Linked DNA regions of Homo sapiens: all the other regions are linked to region 1. The links are contacts of gene promoters, found by promoter capture Hi-C in blood cells and fetal thymus (Javierre and others, 2016). All regions are on one chromosome and are shown on one strand. Each heading gives the region's core, a stretch centred on a gene start or on the middle of the fragment in contact. The rest is flanking DNA. Distances are from core to core; before and after follow the strand shown. Region 1 holds the start of CH25H (cholesterol 25-hydroxylase). Region 2 has its middle 10 kb from the start of ACTA2. Region 3 has its middle 13 kb from the start of MIR4679-1. Region 4 has its middle 3.1 kb from the start of MIR4679-2.

Region 1 (3,642 bases), core at 463-2,962:
AATTTCTCAGTTATTCTTTAGGTAACGTGTGGAGTACAAATTTAAAATACCATGCATATTACTTGGTGTGTTTGCTGTGTGCTAGGACCTATGATTTTACTGCTGTAAACCCACAGCAATAATAATAATCCTACTTCTTGGCAGGGTGAGGAAGCCAGCTTTTTTGAGGATTGGATAAAATCAATTCAGATAAAACATTTAGCCAATGCGTGGCACCTAGTAGGTGGGCTTTACACGGTAGACTTATTATTTTTCCATTTAATACTCCAATTTCCCTTTGTGGGGAATCGGGGGGATAAGAAAATGCAAGCTTCAAGGAGTAAAGGGCTGGACACAACCACATAGATACAAGACACTAAGCAAGAATTAGGAGTGCTCCCTGGCTTCAAAGCTGGTGTCTAAAACGTCTATCCCCTAAGGGGCCCTTGTATCGTGTCATGTGTCAGACCCCGGGTTGAACGCGAGGATTTTTGTGCTGTTCCCAGGGTCTCTCAAGAGCTCTCCTAGTACCGACCTCCTTGTGCTCGGTGGCCCCTGGCCCGAGGACCCCAGATGGGTGGCGGAGAAACGCAGGGGATAGAGACTAGCCCCCTAGCCGGGCTCCGTGGGCCCGGAGTGGATTCAAGGACCGGTGGCAGAGGGCGACTGCAAGTTGGCCCCGCAAAGCCAACAAGGGGAAGGGTAGGGTAGTGACGACATCACCTGGTCCTTCAATAGCCTCCCGGGAGGCTTCAGGAACTCACATCTCTTTCCCTTGACGAACAACGCAGGTGGTTTGCTGAATTAAGTGTTCCCGCCCCAAATTGAGATACAACGGGCTTTTTAGCCAGATTGGCGCAGACTGGGAGTTAAATCCAGCATTTTCCCGGCAAAGCTGAGCCTGGCCGCCGCGGAGCCCTCTTTCCGCTGTGCGGTGCCTCCGGCTCCGATCGCGGGCCCGGCGCCCCGGGACGCGCCGCCGAGGGTAGCTACGCGGCCGGGCTGCGGCCTCTCCCGGAGAGCCTGCGTGCGTGGTCTCTCTAGCTTGCTGCCCGCCGGCCAGGAAAACTCTGGGGACAAGCTGGAGCTGGCGGAGGTTCCCATCCGGCCACCCTTCCCGTCTGATTTCCTGAGCTGACGGTCACCGCCGGCGTTCGGGGACCAGCGGTTCCCTGTGCAAAGGGCTCGTTTCTCGATCGCCGCTGGATAGACCGCAACCGGGTTCTCAGAAAACACCCGAGCTACAGACCGCATGTAGCTTTAAACAGTTTTTAAAATGCGATTATGCTTGCGTCTTTATGAAAGCACATGGATGCAGTTATACGTATGCATTAAAAAACACAAACAATTCTGCATTGATTGCAAAGGAGCGCTTTCTGGTGGCAATGTAAACGGTCTAGTTTGAGACCCGTGATGACACACGTGAACTGAGTTGCCAAACTCATAGAAACTCCACACGGTAGATCTGTACATTGTGTCCCGTGTTAATTGTACGTCAACTGAAAAATCAGAACTTACATGAAAAGTACGAAGTGCCACTGCATACACGCATATCTAAAAGCCGGTAAGATGCGGCTATAGATGAGCACATTTACAGCAATGAAGGGCCACTCTGCCGGGTTGCTAGCTTATTCAAGCTTCGCATCGCCGGGAAAGGGATGGAAAGGCAGCTGACATCACTCGGGGCGGGGCCGTGAGTCCTGTGAAAAGTCGATGGGACTCGAGCAGCAGCCTCAGCTGCCTTGCACAGCCTCGCAATGAGCTGCCACAACTGCTCCGACCCCCAGGTCCTTTGCAGCTCCGGGCAGCTGTTCCTGCAGCCCCTCTGGGACCACCTGAGGAGCTGGGAGGCCCTCCTACAGTCGCCCTTCTTCCCGGTCATCTTCTCCATCACCACATACGTGGGCTTTTGCCTGCCCTTCGTGGTCCTGGATATCCTGTGCTCCTGGGTGCCCGCCCTGCGGCGCTACAAGATCCACCCTGACTTCTCGCCATCCGCGCAGCAGCTGCTACCTTGCCTGGGGCAGACCCTCTACCAGCATGTGATGTTTGTGTTCCCCGTGACGCTGCTGCATTGGGCCCGCAGCCCGGCCCTCCTGCCCCACGAAGCTCCCGAGCTGCTCCTGCTGCTGCACCACATCCTGTTCTGCCTGCTACTCTTCGACATGGAGTTCTTCGTGTGGCACCTGCTGCACCACAAGGTGCCCTGGCTGTACCGCACCTTCCACAAGGTGCACCACCAGAACTCGTCCTCGTTCGCGCTGGCAACGCAGTATATGAGCGTCTGGGAACTGTTTTCTTTGGGCTTCTTCGACATGATGAACGTCACACTGCTCGGGTGCCACCCGCTCACCACCCTGACCTTCCACGTGGTCAACATCTGGCTTTCCGTGGAGGACCACTCCGGCTACAACTTCCCTTGGTCCACTCACAGACTGGTGCCCTTCGGGTGGTACGGGGGTGTGGTGCACCACGACCTGCATCACTCTCACTTTAACTGCAACTTCGCTCCGTACTTTACACACTGGGACAAAATACTGGGAACGCTGCGGACTGCATCTGTCCCAGCGCGGTGATGTGGCTGCGGTGGGTGCCCCTAAGACTCGGGACTGCTGTGCCTTTCACACTTGAATGAAGAGAAACACCTGAGCTATATATTTTTTTAAAGCAACTAACTTATTGCTTTATGTTTATCTATGAAAACCATAGATAAAATCTGATGCATTTTTGTAATCTGACAAAGTAATTTACATACTGTTTGTGTATCAATACAATTTTGTGTTCTTGGTATTCTTAGTCTAGCTCACCTCAATAGCCTTGAATCCTGCATATGAATTAGACATTCATCACTGGCATATTTAGAATATCTCTAAAAGGACTTGTTTGTAGAATAAGGAATTTTCTATGTTTCAAAGTGTTCTAAAACCTGGCTAAAAGAATGTATTTTTGTGGATGGTGTTGACTTCTGACTCTAAAAGCAATCAAACATGTTTCTGCTGGACAGTGACCAAGAATTATAGTACCTTCTTATATTTTTTTATAGAACTGTATATTTATTTTGAAAGAAATGTTATTCGTGCTTTAAAAAGGAAAAAAAACCATGAATCAAATAAGTATTGACTTCCGTTTCACTGGTATTTTGACTGATAAAAAAGGGAAGAGGGAGCGGGCATACCAAGTGTCCTTCTAAGCCTCCATCAGCCTCACCATGGAAAGAGAGGAATCTGGGTGTAGGGTGTTCTGTTGGGGGTTGTTAGAGAAAAGGAGGCAGGAGAAGGGGCTCTGTTTGTTGTGCTCTAGCAATTTCATGGAGGAAAAACACGCTAATATTCTTAATGCTTTTCAGCTGATTTCTGTATAACAGGCAAATGATAGGATTACTCTGTAAAGTTTCATAGAAAGATTAACGCTGAGCAGTCAATCATTTTATTATTTGTGGGAATGGATTAGGGGAAGAACAGAATTGGAGGCGTGCCTTGCTTTGCAAAACTGGTGAGTCAATAGTATACACTAGAGTGGCTGATAGATGTGCAAGGGGATTCTGAGGAAGCCCCTGTTTTCATGAATCCATCCATAGCTACTGCAAATGAACATCAAAGCATTGCTTCTGAAATCTGGAATTTCTGTATATTCAGTTTTCTTAATTAAAACATACATGCAGCA
Region 2 (3,642 bases), core at 315-2,814, 240 kb after region 1:
AGAAGAAAAGGGAAGCTATCCCCGGCTCTGGAAATAGAATACACAGGGCTGGACTATATGAATTTGTGTGTTGTGGGGAAGGAGGAAACTTAAGACACTAAAAATGTTTGTAAAGCTTGGAGTGAAAGTTGCAAAGGAGCAGCAAACAGGAGGGCAGAGGAAAAACAGGCGGGCAAAAGAAAGTTACAAAGGAGCAGCAGAACGGGTGCCTCCTTTGAATGACCATGCTTTCATAATACCTTAATTTGTACAGCTGCAAACAGGGAAGGAGACCAGTTGGTACAAGATATGTAGATACTTTTTGCTGAAGGGTAGCTGAATATGCCACCCCAAAATATGCCTCTCTGGCATAAGGATTATTTTGGGTTGAAAGCAATCGAGAAGTAGATACAAAAAATCTCTCTGCCCTACCCCTATTTGCTTAAAAGCAGGACATACACTTATAAAGGTGTCCCTCCTTCCCTCTCTACCAAGAAGGACAAAGGTTGATCACCAGGGATGACCTTAGGCCCTTGCTTGCCTGAAGATGGCACAGGGAAATCTACATAACAGACTTTACTATATAACCTTTTGTCTATCATTAGTTTCCCATGTATTTGTTTTCCCACAATTTGCCACCCCTAGAAACTCAAGATCCTTTCCCCTTGTCTTGTTACTTCCCCACCAATGTGTTGTTCTTTGTTGATGATGCCACATAAACCAGAGTTCTAAGCCACTTCTTTGAGAATTGCTCATTCCCTGGGTATCTCCCATATATACGTGAAGCCTATTTGTTAATAAACTTCTGTTCGCTTTTTTCTTTTTCATCTGCCTTTTTTTGCAGGGGTTCCAGATAAGAATTCGGAAGAATAGAGAGAGAATTCTTTTTTCCTCCCATACAATGCAAAATATGTGAAACTAAACTAAAATATATTAAACTAAAGTAAATATATGAAACTAAAGTAAACTAAAATATATAACAAAATACACAAATTATAGAATAAAATAAAAAAATATAAAAACATATGAAACTAAACCAAAGTAAAGTAAACTAATATAGAACTAAACTTAGGTAGGGCCTGTTAGGAAAACTAGGAATACAAAATTAGACGCCAAAGTAGGAAAGAGCCTTTTAGTCTAGCTAAAAGAGGATTAGAAACTGTAGCATTGTAATAAAGTGTGGACATGCAGAAAAAAAGACAAGTTTAAGAAAACCTGCCGGAATGTATAGCTAAACAAAGACTGTACATCCCATCCTGGTTCTTTACAAGCCAAACACGGATATTAGTTTGATTACTCCAGAACCTACTTCTTTTTTGACCCAAAATGGTAATGCCCAAGCTTGTCAACTCACCTTCTTCACTAGCCTCCAATGAGAATGGCATTTGGCTGCAGACAAAAATCAAATTCACCCTCCAGGGACAGAGACGTGCCAACACTACAGTGATCCAAAAGTATTTGCTATTGGTTTAAATAGGTCCAGAGATCTGAGCATTGGTAAGCATTGCTGAAACTGCTGAACTTCCCAGAGTGACCTCTAGGAGAGGGACAAAAAATGTCTTGACTAAATAAAATAAGGTGAGTGTAAAAAATTTAAAATTCTCATGAGATTCTAGTCATCCCTTTCCTAGTAAGTCAGACTTACTCCTGACGAGTAAGAAATAAACTACTTTATTCATCTTATTATCTATGTAATAAGTACTATACTTGGGGACATGGTAGGCATTAAATAAATGTAAGTTCCATTCCCCTCTGAGAATCTCTGGAAATAAATTTACACTAAGACATTAGTAGGCATTTGCTCCAAACCTATGCTGCTCAAAAGCTTCCCAGAAAATTGGCATCCTGGAAATTTTCTGATTTTCTTACTGATATGGTTTGGCTGTGTCCCCACCCAAGTCTCATCTTGAATTGTAGCTCCCATAATCCCCATGTCATGGAAGTGACCTGGTGGGAGGTAATTGAATCATGGGGGTGGGTCTTTTCTGTGCTGTTCTCGTGACAGTGAATAAGTCTCATGAGATCTGATGGTTTCATAAAGGGGCGTTCCAGCTTCATCCATGTGCCTTTTTGCAAAAAAAAAAATATTATATATATATATATATATATATATATATATATATATATATATATATATATATATATATATATATGGGGCATTCCCCTGCACTCACTCTCTTGCCTGCTGCCATTTAAGAAGTCCCTTTGCTCTTCCTTCACCTTCCACCATGATTGTGAGGCCTCCTCAGCCATGTGGAACTGTGAGTCCATTAAACCTCTTTCCTTTATAAGTTACCCAGTCTCAGGTTATGTCTTTATTAGCAGCATGAGAACAGAGTAATACACTTATGAAGTTTATTCCACATCATGGTAATCACGTGCTGATAAAATGGTCATTTCTTTTTATTTTAGACACTGAAATAGTGTGTGACACTCTTACGTTCATACACTTGGGATATAACACCATCTGTGGTATTTGTCACCAAAGACAATTAGCCAAGAGCTTTTGTTACTACTTCCTTCCTAAGCAAAACTTACAGAACCACATCTAAGAAGCTGATAACAAAGTAAGGCAGGCAGATGCCTGTCTGAAATATCCTAACTGAGACTATCTCCTCTTTTTTTAAACCACTAATCCTTGATGACATTTCATACTTTTGTTTTCTTATTATTTAATTACCTATTGAAATACTGTAGGTTGGGTTGTCAGGAAGCACTGGAGCTGTGATTGGATTGGTTATTGTTTGTAGATCAGAATTTACAAACTGAAGACCCACAGCAAACATTGATTTAGCCTGTTGTCCTTTTTTAAAAATGTTAGTTAATTGCCATCATTTTAAATGAAGGGATTTTTGCACAAAGGTTACAATTTCTACCTTCTCATAAAAAGTGGAAGATCTGGCAACTCTGAACTAGCATTACAACAACAGATGGGGCTGAGTGGTGGCCAATCCCTTGCAGGAGACCTAGGTCCTCTGTTTATCAGAAGTACCACTTGGCCTTTTCAGTCATCCTTGCCCCAATAGGCATCTGAATTTGCAAAACTTGTCTTAGATTTTGGAATATAGATTACTGATGCATGGCAAAAATATCATATAAAGGGTGTGCACACAGAGAAGTTAAGAAGTTAAGAAGTAGAAAGGCAAATCAATGCAGCCATTATAATCCTGTCATTTATATTTTCTAAGGCACCATCAGTAAACACTAAGGTTTGTGATTTTCACTGAATAATAAAGCCTAGTACCTTTTCATTGAAACCTAGCAAACACCATCAGAGAATAAGGACAAAGGGAAGACTGCATAGAATGTCAGAACTAGAAGAAAACTGAGAGGTGAATTAGCACAAAGTCTTCATTTTAGGAAAGATTATTGAGATTCAGAGATGTAAAGATCTTGTCCTCTTTCATAATAGCATCTTGATGGCAAAGTCAGGACTGTGGATCTCTACACTGAGGGTCTCTCTCTTACTCTGTGGCTATTCTTGCCTAAGTTATGTCTTCCTCTGATGTGTATAAATCAGCCAGTTTAAGAAAAGCATCACACTCTTCTAAGTGCACATTGCATATGTGTAACAGCTGACACTGATGAAGAAACAGAGATGAGCAGTGACATCCCAGACAGTTGGCAAGGTGTCACTCATACTATATCAAGAGGATGGAAAGT
Region 3 (3,642 bases), core at 608-3,107, 160 kb after region 1:
GAAGTTTTTGTGTGTTTTATAAGTGTTTTTTTTCTGGAAAATATTTTTAATTTTTTCTTTTGTTAAAATTTGAAACAAATATGACAAACTGCTGATATTTATTACACCTGGGTAATGGGAACATAAATATTTTATTAATGCACTATATTGTATAATGTTATATTATACTTCTATATACTGTAAACATATGAAATATATAGTATTGTATTACAATTAAATTTTTCAAAATAGACACAAACTCTTCCCAAGTTATTGTACTCCCAAGTTCTTGGCAGCAGGAACACTCCTCACAGTAACATCCTGCACCCAGCATCAACATGAATTTACATATTTAAATATTAACAGGATTTAGAGTTGGTCTCAGGAATAGGGAGCATTTGTCTTATTCTGTTCCAGGATCCCACCTGGATACTGGATTATATTTTGTTGTTATGTCTTCTAAGGCTCTTCTTGGCTATGACAGTTTCCTTGTTTTTAATGACTTTGAGAGTTTTGAGGACTGCATGTCAGGTATATTGTAGAATGTCTCTCAACTGGGATTTGTCTAATGTTTTCCCTTGATTATACTGGGTTTATGGGTCTTGGAAGGACGATCACATAGGTAAAGTGCCATTCTCACCACATCATATCTAGGGTTCATACTATCAACACGCTTAATGGCTTTGATGTTGGCCTCAATTACCTGGATGTGATAGTGTTTGTTCAGTTCTTCCATTGTAAAGTTACTTCCCCCCACCCCCACTGACTCTCATCTCTTTGCAAGGGAAGTCACCCTGCACAGCCCATGCCTAAGGAGTGGGGAGTGTCTACATCAATTATTTGGAATTTTTCTGCATGGAGAATTTGTCTCTTTTCCCCTATTTATTAATTTATTCAATTATCTGTTTCTATCAGTGTGGACTTGTGGATGTTTATTTTCTACTTTAGGTTATAATCCAATACTATGTTATTTTGTTGCTCAAATTGTTCCAGCTTTAGCCATTGGCAGCTCTTTTAGTTAGTTCCTGCAGGGCATATATTTTTATATAAGTATGCTATCTTATATGACATTCAGACTGTTGTATATATTCATTTTTAAATGTCAATTTATTCAAATTATAAAAGTAATACATGCTATGAGAGATAGATTTAATAATACAAAATGCATAAAAAGCTAAAGTCATATACAGCACATAACTCAGTATGAACATTTTAACATATTAAGCTTACTTAACACATTCTTTGGTCCTCAAAGGAACACAGTATGGAAAATATGTTGATGAAAGAGAATATTTGTCTCTGAATTATTTATTGATTTCTTCCTAATTAAAAAGAGAAATAGGCTGGGCGCGGTGGCTGAGGCATGTAATCCCAGCACTTTGGGAGGCTGAGGCTGGTGGATCACCTGAGGTCAGGAGTTCAAGACCAGCCTGGCTAACATGGTGAAACCCCGTTTCTACTAAAAGTACAAAAAATTAGCTGGGCATGGTGATGCGCGCCTGTAATCCCAGTACTCGGGAGGCTGAGGCAGGAGAATCGCTTGAATCCGGCAGACGGAGGTTGCAGTGAGCCGAGATTGTGCCATTGCACTCCAGCTTGGGCAACAAGAGTGAAACTCCGTCTCAAAAAAAAAAAAGAAAAAAAAGAAAAAGAGAAATATATATATTTTTCTTTTCTCTTAAGCACACAATTTTAATAAGTTCCTATTTCTTAGAATTTTGTATTGTAATTGTCATTTTAATTTTCCTGAGGCTGTAAATCTTAACTTCCTACTTTATTCAAGGCACAAGGATAAACTCTTAGAATGGAAGTTTTTGTGTGTTTTGTAAGTGTTTTTTTGTAAGATGTGATCAATGATTCAAATCACTTAGTATAACATTTTATTAAAAAAATAATTTTGCAAATTACTTGGCAATTAAAATGGTTATCATACATCCCTTCTTTGTAATTCATACAGACCAATACCTAAAAGTATAAAGAGCTAAGCCATTGTTGATGTACAGCTACTTAATAGAATATTACCGGTAGGATGATTATGATTTTTACTCAAAAAATGGCAAGAGATTCCAACCAACTAATCGAATGAAGAATGAGTTTCCAGAAAACACATTTCTCAGTACTGAGAATAAAGCAGAAGAGGAAAACTAAGTAAGACACTACACAGCCAAGCACTGGCCCCCAAACTCTAGAATCTTACTAGCAGGGTCTGGAATTTTTAGTTTTAAATTGATGGTAAAGATGAAGACCTGTAAGGAATATGTACATTCGCATTTTTATTCCTGATATTTTAATTTTAATAAATCTCTTTGCCATTAAAAGTTTACGTTTGAACCTTTTTTTTTCCTAAAAAGTGTATACGGCTATTGTATTTTTTGAGTCTTTGCAAAATCTCTCAGACTATTCTTTTCTTGTCCCCATAAATAAAAGAACGTTAATTCTAATTGTAATGGTTTCTGACTTGAAATTCCTATACTTTTAAAAATGGAAATTGAGTTTCTGATCTCCAGTTTTTGTCTTCTGAGGAAAGCTTTCAAGTTTAAATAAACTATTTGAAGCTACCTGGGTTTTAAATTAATATTCATTTATTACAGTAGAAATTTTAAAACCTAGGTTTTTTCAAGGTTTTATGTCTTTTGTCAATCTTATAAACTTATGTATTGAGTCAATGTTTTACAAATCAGAACTATTACTTCTGGAAGAGGCTTTGATAAGTGTTCAATTACCTCAATTTTTAAAAATTAGACTATTTACAAATTTAGTAAATTAAATTATTTAAATATTTTAAATGCATTCCTAATTACATTCAATTTTCTTTTTAAATACTTTAAAATTTGGAGCCCTATCAAGTTTTTCCTAAATACTTAATCATACACTTAATAAATTAACTTACAAATATAGTTAATCTCAAATACCTTAAGCACACAATACAGTTTATTTATTTTGGCAAATTATTTTATAACATTCAGCTTAATTCCAAAACTCTAAAATTAATCACATAGTTTATTAGGAATTGCAAGCTTTATATGTCACAATCTCTTAAACACTACAAACATTTTAAATTCAAATATTGGGAGACTATCCAAAACTTATTCTCCTTTATTTTTTTTTTTTTTTTTTTTTTTTTTTGACAGAGTCTTACTCTGTCGCCAAGGCTGGACTGCAGTGGCACGATCTCGGCTCACTGCAACCTCTGCCTCCTAGGTTCAAGCAATTCTCCTGCCTCAGCCTCCTGAGTAGCTGGGAGTACAGGTGAGCACCACCATGCCTGGTTAATTTTTGTATTTTTTAGTAGAGACAGGGTTTAACCATATTGGCCAGGCTGGTCACTTATTCTTAAACCTAGCACATAAATTGTAAATCTACAAGTTTGGTTTACCTTTTATTATTAATTTCCCAGGGATGAAAAACTATTTGTGTAAAGAAAACCAGAGTAATACTATTAACATGACATTACCTGATAAGATGAATTGACACTACTTTCAGGTGGAATTGAAGTTATTGTCTTTGTTCGGGCTGCTATAACAAAGTAACATAAGTTAGATGGCTTTCAAACAATAGAAATTTGTCTCTTACAGTTCTAGAGGCTGGGAAGTTCAAGATCAAGGGGCCAGCAGATTCAGTGTTTGGTGAAGACCAGCTTTCTGGTACATAGATGACCATCTT
Region 4 (3,642 bases), core at 511-3,010, 140 kb after region 1:
AAATAAGACCAAGGAAACTTCAGCTTCTGGCCTTCATGCCCCGTTCCAAACAAAGAATTGCTGACTTTGCCTCCTGGGTTGTATCACTTTCTTTGCAGCCCCTTCTCTGCCAGCTTTAGGTATTCTCCTTCAGTGGCATTTCAAAGCTTAGTTTGATCTTCCCTACGCTTGACAACCTTTCTTCTGTAATGGCTTGGGTTACAGATTCTGTGTTTCATTGTCCCTTTTTTGTGATTTTGTATTGAATCACAAAGAAGGAAATGATTAGAACTTTAATTTGGCATCTTAAAAGAGAAAAATAATAGCTAACACTTAAATACTTTACTTTGTATATGCCAGGTACTATTCAAAGCATTTTTTCATGTAATAACTAATAATCTTCACTTTGCGAATGAGGAAACAGTGACACAGAGAGGTTAAGTGACTTATCTTAGGTAAAAAAAAATGGGAGTAAATAGATGAGCCCAGATTTGGAGTTAGGCAGGTGGGCTCCAGAGTCCATGGTGCACTTTGCTATACTGCCTTTCAATCTCATTTATTTAATAATTTACACTTTTCTTGCTGTTGTGTGATTTTCCTTTAATGTGTATGTGAGTACATATACTCCAATTATTTTAATTGCTATCCTGGTCTTCCTGTTCTGTCATGAATCAATGCCATTCTCTGTTTCTTTCTTTCTTTTGGTAGTTTCAAATGCATTTTAATACCTGTGAGGTCAATTCTCACTGTTTTAATTTTTCAATTTTTTTCCTAACTACTCCATTATCTTTATTCATACAGATGAACTTTGAAATCATTGTACCAGGTTTCTAAAAAATCATCTAGTGATATTTTCAATTGATTGTATTAAACTTGGAAATTATTTTGAGAAGAAATGATACATTTATAGGACTTTGGTTCACTACATTTATCCTTTTATAAATAGCATTCTTATTTATTTGCAAGACTGATCAATAATAAAACGGGAAGGTATAAGTGAAATAGAATGAAAAAGGATTTTGGACACAACACAAATTTAGATATATTAAATGAGTACTGTAAATAATTCATAAGTATGGCTGCTTATAAGAAGCTTTTGGTATTTAAAACTTGTAAGGGATTAATATCTGGAAAATACAAGAAGCTCCTGCAAATCAACAAGAAAAACAATAATAGACTACTAGATAAGTAGTCTAATAGTCAAATTAAAAAAAATCAACTGTCACCTTACTTGTTAGACTGGACAAATTAGGAAGCTGGATAATATTACACAGCTGTGCTGTGCTCAAATGTCTCTGTGAATATGTTGGTAGTTCATCTCTGTGGGAGTTTGGTTATTGATTCTAAAAATTCCTTCTCTGATTGCACTTCTTCAGGATCAGGATGATATATCACTTTTTTCTTCCTTCAAATAAGTGTATTTGAAAATAAATACACATGAGATTTCTATATAATATCACTATACACAAACAAGAATGGCTAATATTTAAAAAGACTGATAATAGTAAGGATTAATGAATATGTGGATAAATCAGAATTCTCACATACTTCAGTTGAGTATAATTTGAAATAGCCACTTTGTACAGTTAGTATTTATTATCTACTAAAGCTAAAGGCATCCTTATTTTTTGATCTGGCAATTCCACTTTTAGGTATATAACCAAAAAAATAACATGCAATATGCTCCTCAAAATACAATCACTGAAATGCTTATTGCAGCATTAGTTGTAAAAGTCAAAAACTGGGTGTGGGGGGCAATCCCCAATACCCATCAGCATGATAGGTGAACAAATGTGATATATCCACACAATGAAATATTACACTGATCTACAGACACATGCAAAAATATGGAGGAGTCTCACAGACATGGTGTTGAGCGAAAAAAGCCAGACCAAAAAAGAGTACATACTGTATGAGCCATTTTATATAACACAAAAACTAGTGGAACTCCTCTATGCTGCTAGGTTACCCCTGGATGGGCAGGGCTGGAGGGAGCCTGGGGGGGTTTCTGAGATCCTGTTGTTATCCTGATTTTTTATTTGGCTTCTGGTTATGTAAATGTGATTAGTTTGTGAAAATTTGTTGTGCTGAACACTTAGGATGTACATACTTTTCTGCAGGTATGTTGTACTTCAATAGAATGCTTTTAAAGTACATGTATGCAGTTTTCCCTGCAGAGGCTCAGTGAAGAGGGCAAACTGTCAGTCTCTCAAGACAGTGAGTGGTTTTGATCTTTCTCAGACAATGATCCTTGATTCCAGAGAAAAGCCTGGCCAGATCCCATAACTTTTAACCATAAAGAACCAGATAGACCAAAGTGAATGTTTAAAATATAGTTAACCTATTTTTCAGATTTCAAAAATGGTTGAGTGGAAAAAAAATCAATAGTATTTTCAACTAGAAAGACTGTCCCATATTGACCTTTATATTAATTTTCTGGATAGTTGAATTTGGAATTTCAAAGCTTGTAGGGGTTTCTTTGGGGAAAAATGTGAGTTTTCCAGTGATAGTGTTACTAACTATACAGCTTGGAAGTCTGCATCTATTTTGACAAAATAATTTGTGTTTAGTTTACTAATATTGTAATATATTCAATTCTTTTGGAGAAAGAAAACAGACATATTTGTGGATAATTTGCATTGCCTCTTCTCTTAAAGTTTTGCAAATAATACATGATCAATGTTCAAGATGCCATTTCTCTTAGGAATTCAAATTCAGCCATCATTAATAGAGAACTTCCTTTGCACAAAGCACCATTCTGGATATTTTATATTTTTCAATTTAATTTTTATTTCAATTGTGTGATGTGGATATTTAACACCATTATATAGATAAGGAAACTATAGCTATCGAGGTTGATTTATCCAGCTAGAATTCTGACTCTAAATCTAGGACTTTTAAAATATCGTGCTAGGTAAACTTCACAGACTGTCTTCTTCTAGAAAATGTCATTGCAGAGAAATCTAGGAGGCAGGGAGCCATATCCTGTTGTCACCAAGGCATCATCCTATGCTCATAAATCAGCAGATGTGAGGCCAGGAGAAGCAGGTATGGAGAAAGGAATACAGGCTCAGGAAGGTTACGGGCAGACAGGGAGAGCTTGCCAGGGAGAGTTTTCTAAGCATTTCCATTCTTTTCTACTTAGGATGAGGGCTAAGCAAACAAAATACAGTCCACAGTTTTTTTCTCTGAATCAAACATGAGTTTGACGACCTTATTATAGGGAAATTTACCAGCCCTTTTTCATCTGCACAAGATATTGGTAAGAAGAAACAAACCACAGAGCCCTTTTGTCCCATGATCTTGACCTTGGAATTGCTAAAGAATGTGCTCGTTTTTCTTTGTCAGTAGCTGTATTGGAACTGAAGAGTGAAGAAATTGAATTTTGTAAACAGAGTTTGGAAAAGACGCACTTTGGTTCCAGGAAAGAATTCACAGTGACTCCACTCAATAAGAGTTGAGTTGGCAGCTTCAACATCTTCTCTGGGAAGCCCCCGAGTAGCTTGGAGAATTGATGTTGCATAAAAGGATAATCATTGTCATTTAAAAGAATTAGTGTTTGGGTTCTTCGAGTGACATTGTGAGAAGAAAAATATTTATTAAAGATTGGCCTGTAGAAGGAAAAACTAGACCCCAGAGACAATAACAAGAGAAAAGAGTAGT

What was found. The method cuts DNA at HindIII sites, captures the fragments that hold promoters and counts their contacts. A CHiCAGO score of 5 or more calls a contact.
Region 2: a contact is called between a fragment that was not itself captured here and the fragment with the promoter of CH25H in region 1, in 3 of 17 cell types (naive CD4 T cells, total CD8 T cells and activated CD4 T cells). The highest score is 6.6, in naive CD4 T cells.
Region 3: a fragment that was not itself captured here is called in contact with the fragment with the promoter of CH25H in region 1 in 16 of 17 cell types (M2 macrophages, megakaryocytes, M1 macrophages and 13 more); the score reaches 16.3 in M2 macrophages.
Region 4: a contact is called between a fragment that was not itself captured here and the fragment with the promoter of CH25H in region 1, in 5 of 17 cell types (M2 macrophages, M1 macrophages, M0 macrophages and 2 more). The highest score is 8.7, in M2 macrophages.

What each region holds. Positions count from the first base shown.
Region 1 is chr10:89,205,387-89,209,028 of GRCh38, reverse strand. It overlaps CH25H (cholesterol 25-hydroxylase), which reads left to right and starts at 1,712. Exons shown (of 1, transcript NM_003956.4): 1 at 1,712-3,400. The coding sequence starts at 1,737. The coding sequence ends at 2,555. RefSeq lists an enhancer at 1,871-1,940. The HindIII fragment of the contact is 3,745 bases long and covers 1,619-3,642 here.
Region 2 is chr10:88,961,403-88,965,044 of GRCh38, reverse strand. It overlaps a transcript of ACTA2 not described here and a transcript of FAS not described here. Among named protein-coding and RNA genes, the nearest start is that of ACTA2, 10 kb to the right of the region's middle. The HindIII fragment of the contact is 484 bases long and covers 1,323-1,806 here.
Region 3 is chr10:89,048,483-89,052,124 of GRCh38, reverse strand. No RefSeq gene overlaps it. Among named protein-coding and RNA genes, the nearest start is that of MIR4679-1, 13 kb to the left of the region's middle. The HindIII fragment of the contact is 1,302 bases long and covers 1,207-2,508 here.
Region 4 is chr10:89,064,656-89,068,297 of GRCh38, reverse strand. No RefSeq gene overlaps it. Among named protein-coding and RNA genes, the nearest start is that of MIR4679-2, 3.1 kb to the right of the region's middle. The HindIII fragment of the contact is 1,371 bases long and covers 1,075-2,445 here.